Regions from separate parts of the Homo sapiens genome. Here region 1 is linked to region 2. The links are contacts of gene promoters, found by promoter capture Hi-C in human tissues and cell types (Jung and others, 2019). All regions are on one chromosome and are shown on one strand. The core of a region is centred on a gene start or on the middle of the fragment in contact, and the rest is flanking DNA. Distances in the headings are between cores, read along the strand shown.

Region 1 (6,331 bases), core at 3,392-5,891, 38 kb after region 2:
GGCAAGGGCGCCTGCGTGCGAGTGTGCCGCATACACAACAAAACCTCATTTTATAGCCCTAGCATTTGAACTGCGGGAGCGAAGACAAGGGCTATAAAATTTGACATCTGATTTTATAAATCTGCCTCAAGGACTGACAATGTCTGTGGAGAAAATGAGAGAAGAATATACAGTGCTTACGGGGCTCCAAAGGGTGATAACCCTGGGGTGGGAGCTGGGACTTCTGGGGGCTCTACCAGCAGCCTTCCAGAGGACCTCAGGAAGGTCCTCTTGCCTTCCTGTGCCTCAGTTGACCCCACCAGGGTCTTGACCTGGATGATTCAACTCCCTTTGGGCTCTGACTCCCCAAAAGTCTGGGGAACAGTCAGGCCCTGCCTTAACACTGGGATTTTACCACGTGAAGTTAGCTGCTTCAAGCCCCACCGAATGCCTCTAGGTAAGGGCCAATCATGTTTCCTGTGGGGCCTTTGTATCGCTTACCCAGCTATCAGTAAAATAAGCCCCTACAGCACAAAGGCTCTGCAAACCACCCTACCTGCATCTGTGCAGCCTCTCAGAGTTTACAAGAGCTTCCACTGCCATTGCAAATCTGGGCCTCAGGGCTCAGAGGCTGAGACGGGAAGTGACTCACTGGTGACCTCCTGGCTGGTAGGAATGGTGGGATTCAGGCTGTAATCCCCGGGCTCCTGATCACAGCCTTCCTCTCCATGCAGCCACCCTTTCACTGATAGCAGATGTGACGTCTGCAGCTGTCCTCGTGGCCTTCCCTGCAGCACCCTCTATGCCTTCTCCCAAGTCGCCAACCAACTCATTCCCAGATGGCTTTTGCAAAAATATTGTTAAATAATTCAAATTAACAAGATGTTAGAAATGTGATTGGAAAGAAATGTTTTTCTCATTTGGAGAGACCACCCAATGCCTCAGAAGGCAACTGTCCCGGGGCACGAGAGGTTTCCTGGAGACAGACGGGCAGTTGGAATGCTTCCCTGGTGGCGGAGCCGCACAGGCAGATTTATGTGGGCTGATACGAGACAATTAAAAACCGGCTGGAAATGTAATCGCGGCTGCTCAGATGCTGGAGAAGACCAAGGAGCTCCGGTAAAACAAAGGGCACTGCTCCATCCCTGGCTCAGACGGGAGACGCAGCAGTCCAGGGAGGGAACCCCAGCCTGTTGACGGGCACGTCTGGCACTGCCGGGTTGGGGGGTGGTGCACTGGGCCGTGAACTGGCAGAGTGAGGCAGAATGAGAGCAGGCACCTCTTGCCTCTGCGTTTTAGGCAGCATTGGGAAGGGGGAAGCTGAGCTGCAGGGAGTCTGTTTTCCTGGTCTTTTCCAGGTCTACGTTGCAGCCGGGAGAGCCACTATCCACCCAGCTGCTCCGAAATCTGGATGTGGTCCTTGACTCCTCACTCCTCCTCCCTCTCATCAATTCTACCTCCACACACCTCTCCTTTCTACTCCCACTGCCCTAGTCCTTCTCTCCTGATCTATATCACACACCCAGGGCCAGATAGGGCTTCCTAAACTTCTCTCTCATCAGGTATGTAGGCCGCCTGCCACTGGCCCCTCTGAATTGGCCTTGGCCTCCTAGTTTGCTACCAGATAGTCTCAGCATCATCAGCCTAGCACCTGAGTGCAAATGGAGAACTTCTAAGCTTAGCTGGAGCAAATGGCTGAGAAGGGTCAGGAAAGAACAGTGGTCCAGGAGCTGGGCAGGCTCAGCCTCTGCCCCTCCCTGACAACACGGCCTTAAGACAGGTTAAGCCCCTTTGAGCCTCTGTTTCCTCTTCTGTAAAGTAGGAGCAATGAGTTGCGCTTTCTTCACAGCTCCTTGAGGGCTGGACCCAGAGAAGAAACTAGACTCTTCTATTTGGGTCATGGATGCTGACACTGTTGGCTCAGAACCAGCCCCTCTGGTTTCAGGTCTCTGGGCTTTCTCCATGTCACCACTGCCTGGGGAAAGGGGTCTGAGAAATGCTGGGCACAGGGCTCATGGTCACAGGTCCTGTCAGAAAATCCAGCTTTGGTCCAGAGAACTAGTTGGCCATTGGCTGGGCTTCTCAGGGCCTGCTAGGGAGGAATGGGGGTGTTTCTATTCCGAGAGACCCCACAAGGTAGAAAGAGGCCTCGAGCTGTGTTGCAATCTCATCTCTTTACTCATTAACTGTGACGTAATGTGAACACCAGTTTCTTTATCTGTAAAAATGATGGCAATGGTTGCTACTCTTCTTGAACATACTATCACAGTGTGAAAGCTGGCTATTCCCAAATATCAGGCCCTGTGCTGGGCATGCTGACCCGTATCACCTCACTCACATGTTACAGCAGCCCAGAGCAGGTGGCGGGGCAGGATTTACACTTGCTGTGCTAGAGAGTAAACAGAGGGCTCAGAGAATATGCAGAACTCAAACTAGGGTCTGTCTGAACCCTTCAGAAAGGAAGGGTGCAAATCATGGTGACTAGTTTGGGATCCCGTAACTTGTCAGAGGCAGAGCTAGGATTTGAACCCAGGTCTCCTGGGCATAGGCCCAGGGCTGTTCCTACACTCTCCACCCCCACTGCACCAGAATCACCAAAGCACCAGGCTCAGAGTCCAGAAGAGGTGCCAGTCTAATGTTGAGGGTGGCGTCCTTGGCAATGTTTTACCACCAGCAGGGCACATTTTCTCAGTAATTCTGAATAAAGGGAAATGTCATCTAATATTCCTCACAGTGTCCCCTCAATGGTGCACTCTCTTATCCTGCAAGGCATCTGCACATTCTAAAGTTCACTGTTCTCATTTAGTCCTCTGCAAAGAGTGTTTGAGGAGTCTCTGTTTTGCCTACAGCAGTGGCTTCTAATTGTGGCATTTCTTTTAAACCTTTTAGAAGGAGAAAACACGAAGCACGCTAATTGAGCAGAAAGTTCATTTTTCCTCCATGAGCCCTGAAAGGACATGAAATCCTCCATGCGATAAGAGCAAAGAGACAGACCCCCTCTTCCCCCACCACCCCTGCTGCCCTGACTCAGGCTGGCTCAAATGCTGCTAGCAAACAGCTTGCCTGCTGGGAAAGCCAGAGGCAGGCAAGCTTCTTCCTCTTTCTGGGCCTCAGTATCTCCACTTGTTCAAGATATTGGACCAGAAAATTGAAAAAGTCTCTTTCTGTTCCCTAAACCCCAAGATTTCTGCTTAGGGTATTCCTGGAGCTGCTACCTTGACTGGCTGCCAACATGCTTCCCTATGAGATGAGGAGGCCAGACCACAAGTTCGGAAGATGGGCAGGAGAGCTGGAGGGGCAGCAGCATGGTGATGAAAAAGGATACCTGTTGAGTGGTCATCATCTCCAGCTCCTGATGAGCAACTAGGAGGTCAGAGAAGTTCACTCATTCATCCAAGGTCACACCAAAGCACAACGTACAGAGTGCAAGAGAGGTGAGAGGTTCAAGACAGGTTATCCAGGAAGAGGGGAGCCTGGATTGGACTCCAGTTCTGTGAGATTCTCTAGCATTCTTTCCAGCTGTAGCCAATAAAATCTAGAACCCATCATCGTAAAGGACAGTGGATGTGGGCACAGATGGAGACTTCCAGGTTGAACCCAGACAATTTGCAATGCACTGGGACACACCGAGCTCTTTCCCCAACAACCCGTGGCTCTCTGAGGTCCATAATAAAGACATTTGAGCTACCACTGATAGAGCACTCACTATATGCTGGAGCATATGCTAAGCACTTCACATATATTGTGTCTTCATTAATACACCTGTGAAACCCATTTTATAGATGAGAAAACCAAGGCTCAGAGATGTTCAGTCCCTTTGCCCAACACTACCCTGTTAGTATGTGGCGGAGCTGGGTTTCAAGAGCCTAAGCCAAGACCCAGAGCCATTGTCTTCACCGCTGTGCAGAGCTCCCTCTGTTGGGGGAGTCATGGGGCACATGGCCAGGAGCTCAGGGCCCCTGCAACCACTGCTGAGCAGTGTGGGGGTCCTGAGGCAAGCAGTACTGTACCTGAGCTGCACACACCTGCCTTCCCTGAAGTTTGCTCTTAAAAGGCTTCATCATCCCTGCAGGGGCCTGGCTGGGGAATACAGTGACCTACTAAGTCCACTGTCAGGTATTCAGGTATGCTGGGGCTGTGTGGGGAACTCAACAATGGCCAGGGAGGTCCCACTGTGGCCTTGCAGGGACCACCCTGGTGGCTCACACATGGGAGCAAGCAACCACCACGGAGCTAGGTGTCTGGAGTCTCAGATGTTAACCCAACAAGGGGATGCTTGGACGGCAGAAGGAAGTGGAGACTTGCTCCCTGCTGATAGATGAGGGGAGAGCAGCCTTTCCTCATATCCCCACTCCCACTGGCCCCTAAACCTTTATTATTTCTTTCTCCTAGCTGTCAGCAGCAACAAACTAAGATTAATCACTTGCCTGCCTGGACCCAGACATGCCTACTGTTTGAAAACTCTCTCCTTTGCTATATTAATCAATGAAGGGACAGACAAAAGAAAAACAACCCTAACTGCCACGCACCCCCAGTGCCCCTCAGCTCTTCTTGGCCCTGTTACACCCACCCAACCTCCTTCGGAGCTACAGGAGGTATTTGCCGGCTAAAGACTGAGTACCCAGCAGTCAACACAAACCCGGCTGCTCTAAGCCGGATACAAATAGACGTCATCAAGCAATCTGAAGGACAGGAGGCAAGTTCTTGATAATGTCGTGCTCCTCCTTCCCTCCTTGGAGGAGATGGGACCTTCCTGCCATCCTTGGACTGAGAGGAAAGTGGTCTAGTCATAGAACCCTTAAACTGGAAGCAAGTTTACTAATCAGACCCCAGACCCTCATTTTATCGATGCAAGTGGAGAAGATACCTGCCAGATACCTGCCCAAGTCACCTAGTGCAGCAGGGACAGCCTGGACTCACCCAGGGCTCTGTCTACTCTGCTGCTTCCGTGGTGATTTCTGAAGGCTCTGGAAAAGCTGGGAGAAGCAGAGACTGGTATATACTGAGCACCATCTATGTGTAGGGCTTATCTGCCAAGCCTTACTTCTTGCTGAGGCAAGCATCCCGTGATGCTCAGGAAGGTGCAGTACCTTGCCCAGCATCAGGTGCGGGGAAAGAGATGGAAGCAGGACTTGGATTCAGATATCTGACTGCAGAGCCTGTGTTGTCCCTCTCCATCTTGAAAAGGGCTGCCTCGGTCTCCTGGGATGCCTGCCCACGTGCTGTTCGCCTTCTGGACTCCTACATCAGGCCCCTCCCCAGCTCTCGGTCTGTGCCAGTTCACGTGGCATGTGTAGGGACATGGAGGGGAAGGGGGGGATCACTGGGGGGACAGGGAGGCAGAAGCTGGCATCCCTCCTCGCCAGTACTCATGGGCCCCCTAGTTCACTCATGGTTCTAGAATACAGCCCTGACAATAGCACTGCATCCTGTTTCAAACCTTGAGAACTCCCTGCTGCCTCACAGGTAAAGCCCCGACCCCTCCACCTGGTGATCAGGGCTACATCTCTCTTGGGCTCAGATGAATGTGTCATTTGTTGTTCTTAGGCAAGCTCCGCCCTGCCCTGTCTCTGGGCCCATTCTCTCTGCAGCCTGCCTTTTCTCCCCTGTGCATGGGTTTAAGACCTGCTCATCCTTCACATTCCCCTTCCTGATTCCTTCCCTCTTTCATAGCCTGGAAACTTTCATAGAAAGAGTACTTTCTACTTCGGGCAGCCCTGAACACATTCTCCGTGAGTTATAGGTGTAAGTGTCTTCCTTTCCTTGTGAGGCTGTGAGCTCCTGCAGGGCTACAGCTCATTCAGTAACTGACACTGGACGGGGCAGAGCTCATTGGCTGGGCTGGAGAGGCTGTGAACAACCAAGTGCCACAGCATGATGGAAACAGGCCAGACCCCAGAGGTGTCTCCTTAGGTCACGTTTGCAAGATGCCAGGCAATTTGCCTTCGGGGATTAGAAAGCCAAAGGTCCCTCCGTAAGGACTGTATGCAGCCATTAGCCCCACTGGCTTTGGGACTCTCACCACCTCAACCAAGCAGGGGCTGGGTCCTTGTCAAAGCTGCTGACTGCAGAGGCCTCAGAGGTGCCACTCGGTGCCCCTTCCCATGGGTCACACAGGATCCCTGCTCCATGAGGGCAGAGCCTGCCCAGCAGAACTGGAGGCCACAGCACTCACCCCGCCTCCCTGCTGTCTGCCCCCAGCTAGAAGTCCCCCAGTCTTTGAAGTCCTTCCCTCATCTTGTCCACATTCCTTTGCAAAAACTCACCAAACCAGAACTTGCCAAGACTCATTCGCAGGCCAAAGTGCCTGAAGAGCCTTTTAATGAGATTTTTTTCAAGGCTTTTCATCCCT
Region 2 (6,019 bases), core at 2,879-5,378:
TTTTTTTTTTTTTTTTTTTTGTAGAGACAGGGTCTCACTATGTTGTCAACGGTGGTCTCAAACTCCTGGGCTCAAGTGTTCCTCCCACCCTGGCCTCCCAAAGTGTTGGGATGACAGGCATGAGCCACTGCTCCCAGCCTATTTTTATTTTTAAAGACAGGATCTTGGCCAGGTGTGGTGGCTCACGCCTGTAATCCCATCACTTTGGGAGGCCAAGGCAGGCGAATCATGAATGAGGTCAGGAAATCGAGACCATCCTGGCTAACACGGTGAAACCCCATCTCTACGAAAAATCCAAAATTTAGCCAGGCATCGTGGCACGCACCTGTAGTCCCAGCTACCTGGGAGGCTGAGGCAGGAGAATTGCTTGAACCCGGGAGGCAGAGGTTGCAGTAAACCAAGATCACAGCACTGCACTCCAGCCTGGGCGACACAGCAAGACTCTATCCAGAAAAAAAAAAAAAAATGACAGGGTCTTGTTCTGTCACCCAGACTGGAGTACGGTGGTACGATCATGGCTCACTGCAGCCTGGACCCCTGGGGCCTCAGTCTCCTGAGTAGCTAGGACCACAGGCGCATGCCACCATGCTTGGCTAACTTTTAAAAAACATTTTTTTAGCAGAGAGGGGGCCTTGCTATGTTGCCCAGGCTGGTCTTGAACTCCTGCCTTGGCCTCCCAAAGTGCTGGGATTTACAAGCCACTGCACCCATCCAACACTTGCTGTTTTAAAAAATTACTTCTAACCTGTGTACTTATGTTCCCTTTTTTCTTGAGCAGGGTTATCAGTTTATCTAATTTATAACCTTACCACTCCTAGCAAAGCAGCAGCTTGTGAATTACCAATCTTACTATTTCTCAGTTTTGTTTTGTTTTTTTGAGACAGAGTTTTGCTCTGTCACCTGGGCTGAATGCAGTGGCTACCTCGCAGTTCACTGCACTTACTGCAGCCTTGACCTCCTGGGCTCAAGCAATCCTTCCACCTCAGCCATCTGAGTACCTGGGACCACAGGCCCGCACCACCAAGCCCAGCTAATTTTTGTATGTTTTGTAGAGACAGGGTTTCTCTACGTTGCCCAGGCTGGTCTCAAACTCCTTGGGCTCACATCATCTGCCAGCCTTGGCCTCCCAAAGGGGACTACAGGCATCAGCCACCATGCTCACCTAGTTTAAAAAAAAAATTTTTTTTTTGAGACAGAGTCTCACTCTGTTGCCCAGGCTGGAGTGCAGTGGCGCAATCTTGGCTCACCGCAACCTCCACCTCCTGGGTTCAAGCGATTCTCCTGCCTCAGCCTCCCAAGTAGCTGGGATTACAGGCATGCCACAATACCCGGCTAATTTCTGTATTTTTAGTGGAGACGGGGTTTCACTATGTTAGCCAGGCTGGTCTCAAACTCCTGAGCTCAAGTGATCCAGCCTGCCTTGGCCTCCCAAAGTGCTGGGATTACAGGTGTGAGCCACTGTGCCTGGCTTATTTTCTTGTAATTCTTAAGTGAGACAACTATTTTTATCCTTTATTTCATAACTTGACTGTTTAAGGCTGTGTACTTTTCTTTGAGCAAAACTCTTATTACTATTTAAGAGAGTTGGCATTTTGTCTTAACTATGCTTGCTAGTAAGTGTCCCAAAATCTTCAGTGAGTCTAGTGTTGTTATTCACAGTAAAAATAAGATTAAAGGGAAAAAAAAGGTTCCAGAATATCATCTGTTCCCTCTCTCCTCTCCCTTTCTTAATGTACAGAGTTTTGGGGCTTAATATGATTAACTTCAAGATATGTTCTAGACACTGAAGTCTGTTAGGGTATTGAGTTTGATAATTATTAGTTCTACTACATCCTTACTTTTTACTGATTCAGCTGATAGGTATGAGTTAAAAACTCTTATTAGTACACTTACAAGCTAAGATTAATCAATATTTGAAGTCCTAAAACTTAGTCTAGAAATGCTTGATACCTATGTAATGCTTTGCACTTCTTCAGTTTCAGAATTAAACAATGTTAAATCAACAAGAATATTTAGATTAATGTACATGATTACATGATATTGTGACAATTTATGAATGTCAAAACCATTTTATTTTTACATACGGAGCACACAAAATATTTTAAATTCTAAAGTCACCACCTACAAGCTGTTTACACATGCTCCTTGACAGTACAAGCCAAGTTATTTGTGTACTTGAACAACAATAAAAATTTTGTCCATGTTCACTTTTACTGGAATGTTACTTGTATTACTTTCTGAAATTTTGCAAATAAAGGTTAGTTTATTTATGACTCTGTGTGAGAATGGGGACTGTTATTAAACAAGCAGAAAACTACAGCTAACAGAAGTTAACCATTTATTGACCACCATATCCAACTATTTTAAGAACATTACTGTACATTGAGATTCTCAGATTTAAAAAATAGGCCTAGATGGGGGAAAAAATGTTATGAAACCCTCCTGGACTTTACAGATTTAAAGCTTTTTCTCTAGTTTAATCCTACACACCAGGATGGTGTGAATATGTTCTTAATTTAGCAATAGAAGGATAATGTGCACAGCATTATTTGGTAGTACAGTTTAGACTTTTGCATGTTTACCTATACTGTGAACATGGTTAAATTTCTTTGCTAAACTGATCTTTATATTTTTATTCATTAATGTGGATAATTCTTTGCAATTTATTGCAAAATTTATTTACCATAACTTTACGCTTGTTTGCTACGTAAAACTATCTCATCATAAGGGAGCAGTTAATGAACTTGATTTTCAAGCAACTACAAGTGTCAAGCTTCTGTGACTAAGAAAACAGTGTAAAGTCTAAAACCTTATTATAATTTACAGCCTACATGGATCAGCATGATACAGATATGATCCTAGCACAAAGGTCTCTGCAAAAACTGGGGAGAGGGTGACTCCAATTCTCAAAGGATGTGAATTTCCACTAGTCAGCAGGTCTGAGTCAGCATTCAGAACAAGATCAGCCTGGGTCTAGTCCTAGTTACGACACTAGCTTGCCAATATAAAGACAAAGCAATATCTGATTTTAAAATCCACTGATCTGAGTTTGCTTTCATTTACCAAACGAGAGATCAGATGAGTCAACTCCTAGCTTGTTTTCCCCTGAGATGCGCTAAGGGTGATTCCAGTTCCAAAGCGGTAACCTGTGCTCTAAACCACTATGGGACCTCAAGAGTCCTAGCACCTTTTGATCCTATGGAATCCTTTCAAAGCACGGGCAGAGGCGGCTCAAAATGGCAAGGTCACTATACATTTCAAGGGCTTCTGTTTCAGAGATTACAAGTAGAGAAAAACAGAAGGTGGGAATTAAGATCAGCTAGGTAGAGCTGTGAGATGCAAAACAAAGGTTTTGCAGGAAGTTGAGGTGCTGACATACTCCATCTAGCTAAACTGAACACCAAATAATGGATGGAGACTAACACCACCAACACCATCGTCCCCGAAAATCCTTGTACAAGTGAGCTTCCTACAACGCGATGCAATATGCTGTCGCAGAACAAGCACTGCCAGGCTATGTAGCTGAACTTACCGTTCTCCAGGCGTCCATTTCCCCAACCTGTGAAAGGCGGGGAGGGGGTTGGACAAGATCACTAAGTCCTCTTCCGTTTCTGACACTTCACAGTCAGGGGTCCCGAGGTGAGGCCGAAATCCCAGTCTCCCGGGACGCAGAGGCCCTTGCGCGGTGCCATCCCCGCTGTCCCCCGGGCGCAGGCAGCTCCCGGCTCCTCCCCGCCCCTGCGGTTCCTGTGCACCAGGGAGGTGCCTCCCCAGCCCAGGGCGCGCCCGAATGAAGGGACAGCGCCTTCGCGGGAAAGGTCGCCCAGCAGCCGGACAAACACCCGCGGCAGGCGGGGGAGCCCGGAGCCGAGGAGGCTCAGAACTGATTCCGCCCGCGCCGCCTGGGTGGGGCCCGCAGGGACCGGGCCAGGGCAGCCGGAGCGCGCAGAAGACAGGGATGGGCCCCCAGGGCGGCAGCCTGCCCCAGCGGGCCCTTCAGCGCGTTTCCCCTCCCTCCAACCTCATGCGAAGAAAGCCCGGTGCTTCCCCACGCTCGTCCCACACTCACCCATCAGCGCCGGCGTCCCGCAGGACGGCTAGCGAGCCGGGGCCCGCGCAGGCGCAGACTGTGACCGACCCCGAGGTTGGGGCGCAGCGCGACGCGCTGGGCGCTGTTGGGGTCACGTGAGGGAGACACCGCCCCGCCCCGCCTCCCCTCCCTCGGCCCGCGGCCCGCCAGATGTCGCCAGCCTACTTCTCCTGGCCGCAGGCCGCCGCGGCGGGGCAGGTAGAGGGCCACGCCAGCACACCTGTCAGGATGCGGGCTCCGCTAGCCACCATGCTTCACCCTTGATGCCGTACGGTGGCCTCAGCGTGCCAGAAACAGCCAACGCGTTCTCTAGCGCGCTGCCTGCAGGGGGCGTCTGGGCATTGTCGGTTTTAGGGGCCTTGTCGGTTCTGCGGGGCGAGCGCCTTCGCGGAAAACTCCAAAGTACCCTCTGTGGAGCCTTGTTGAGTATCTTCAAACCTTCAGAGGGACCTTTTATCAGCGACCCATGCCGCAGTTTACAGAAGAACGCTTTGTGCGTGCTTTGGGACGTATGGATCACTTTTAAACTTTTTCCTTTGAAGCTCAGACAGCTTGCGGGGGGCTTGGGAGGAGCGCTGCCCGGGGAGTTAGAAGGCTTGGGTCAAAGTCATAGCCCTCATACTTCTTGAGAGTGACCTTGGGTGAGTCGCTGGACCCTGAGCCCCAAATCTCCGTCTGAAAAGTAACCCATGCCTTGTATGCGTCCTCGGGCTGTTGCAGGAGTCTTTGGAAATGATGGTTCTGACTCTGAGTTGGAAACTGGAACGCACACAACAGATGGGAGGCGTTGAAGGAAACAGAAAGGTCGGCCTGAGGGGAGAGGCGTTTCAGGAGGCTTGCGGATGTGTGAAGTGTGCGCACTGTGCTTGGGGCGAGCCCAAGCAGTAACCCCACCCGAGTGAAGCGTTCTTGGGGGGATCGGCTCCGGGTGGGCGACGTTCCCCGCGTGCCCCCTTCCCCCGAGAGCACTTTGTAGACACTGACTCCAAAAGCGGGTCTGGTCTCTGCCCAGCCCCACTTTGGCTGGCGTGCTTAGGTGCCTCTCGGGAAGCTGGAGACCACCCTCCCCCATTCCAGCAAACGCTCCATTGAGGAACCTACTGCGTGCCAGGTCCTGGGGAGCTTAGCGTCTGATGAAGGATACAACAACAAAAGACTGGAAATTCAGAAGCATGAGGGGACCTCCCCCCTCGAGGGAGAACCAGAGATGGCTTCACAGAGCAGACGTTTGAACTGGGCCTTGGAGGATGGATGAGTGGAATTTGGCCCAGTGGAGAAAGTCATAGCAGCAGGAGATAAGATTGTAAGGGTCAGGTGGTGGGGCTGGATAATGCGAATCTTGACTGTCAGACACAGACACCTGCCATCTAATTAGTACGCGAGGGATAAATTTTGGACTCCGCAGGATAAGGACAAGGCTACACAATGGCTTAGAACAGTTAATCGGGCAACAGTTGGAAAGGGCCTTTGCCTCAAAATTATGTTTGCCCTGTCTTGTGTGAATGCCTATTCAGATGCATTATTTGAAAAATAAATAAACCAGGCAGGCATCCAGCGTGTTCATAAGCATAAATAATTAATTTCAGATTAGAATGGAGAGGTTATTCTCCTGCGGTAAAACCTGAACAAGAAGGAAAAGACTGAAATTAAACACACAATTGGGGCACACCAGACTCAGAAAATCCCAGGCTAACGGGAAAACTGAGGTCTGGAGCTGAGCCCAGTCTGCTTCTTTTATGCTGCTGCAGGCCACAGCACAGTCCTCTGCCCCTCCAGCTCTTAGTTCCTTGTCAGAAACCCCCAGGCCCTTCATTGGCTCTTCTTGGGCATATGAATGTTGGGGATGAAAACCCTCTATTTTTGGATACCAGATCCATCTTAAAGTTAGCCCTTCATTTCTGTCCTCATCCACCCATTCCTGCATTCCAT

The links. The method cuts DNA at HindIII sites, captures the fragments that hold promoters and counts their contacts. A contact is called where the count stands out against the background at its distance.
Region 1: a contact is called between a fragment that was not itself captured here and the fragment with the promoter of SLC25A51 in region 2, in 1 of the 25 tissues and cell types used here (bladder).

What each region holds. Positions count from the first base shown.
Region 1 is chr9:37,937,611-37,943,941 of GRCh38, forward strand. All of the region lies in intron 5 of SHB (SH2 domain containing adaptor protein B), which reads right to left. Among named protein-coding and RNA genes, the nearest start is that of SLC25A51, 37 kb to the left of the region's middle. The HindIII fragment of the contact is 4,559 bases long and covers 2,363-6,331 here.
Region 2 is chr9:37,899,999-37,906,017 of GRCh38, forward strand. It overlaps SLC25A51 (solute carrier family 25 member 51), which reads right to left and starts at 4,129. Exons shown (of 3, transcript NM_033412.4): 1 at 4,070-4,129. It also overlaps the pseudogene PAICSP1. RefSeq lists a silencer at 3,570-4,329. The HindIII fragment of the contact is 6,842 bases long and covers 2,619-6,019 here.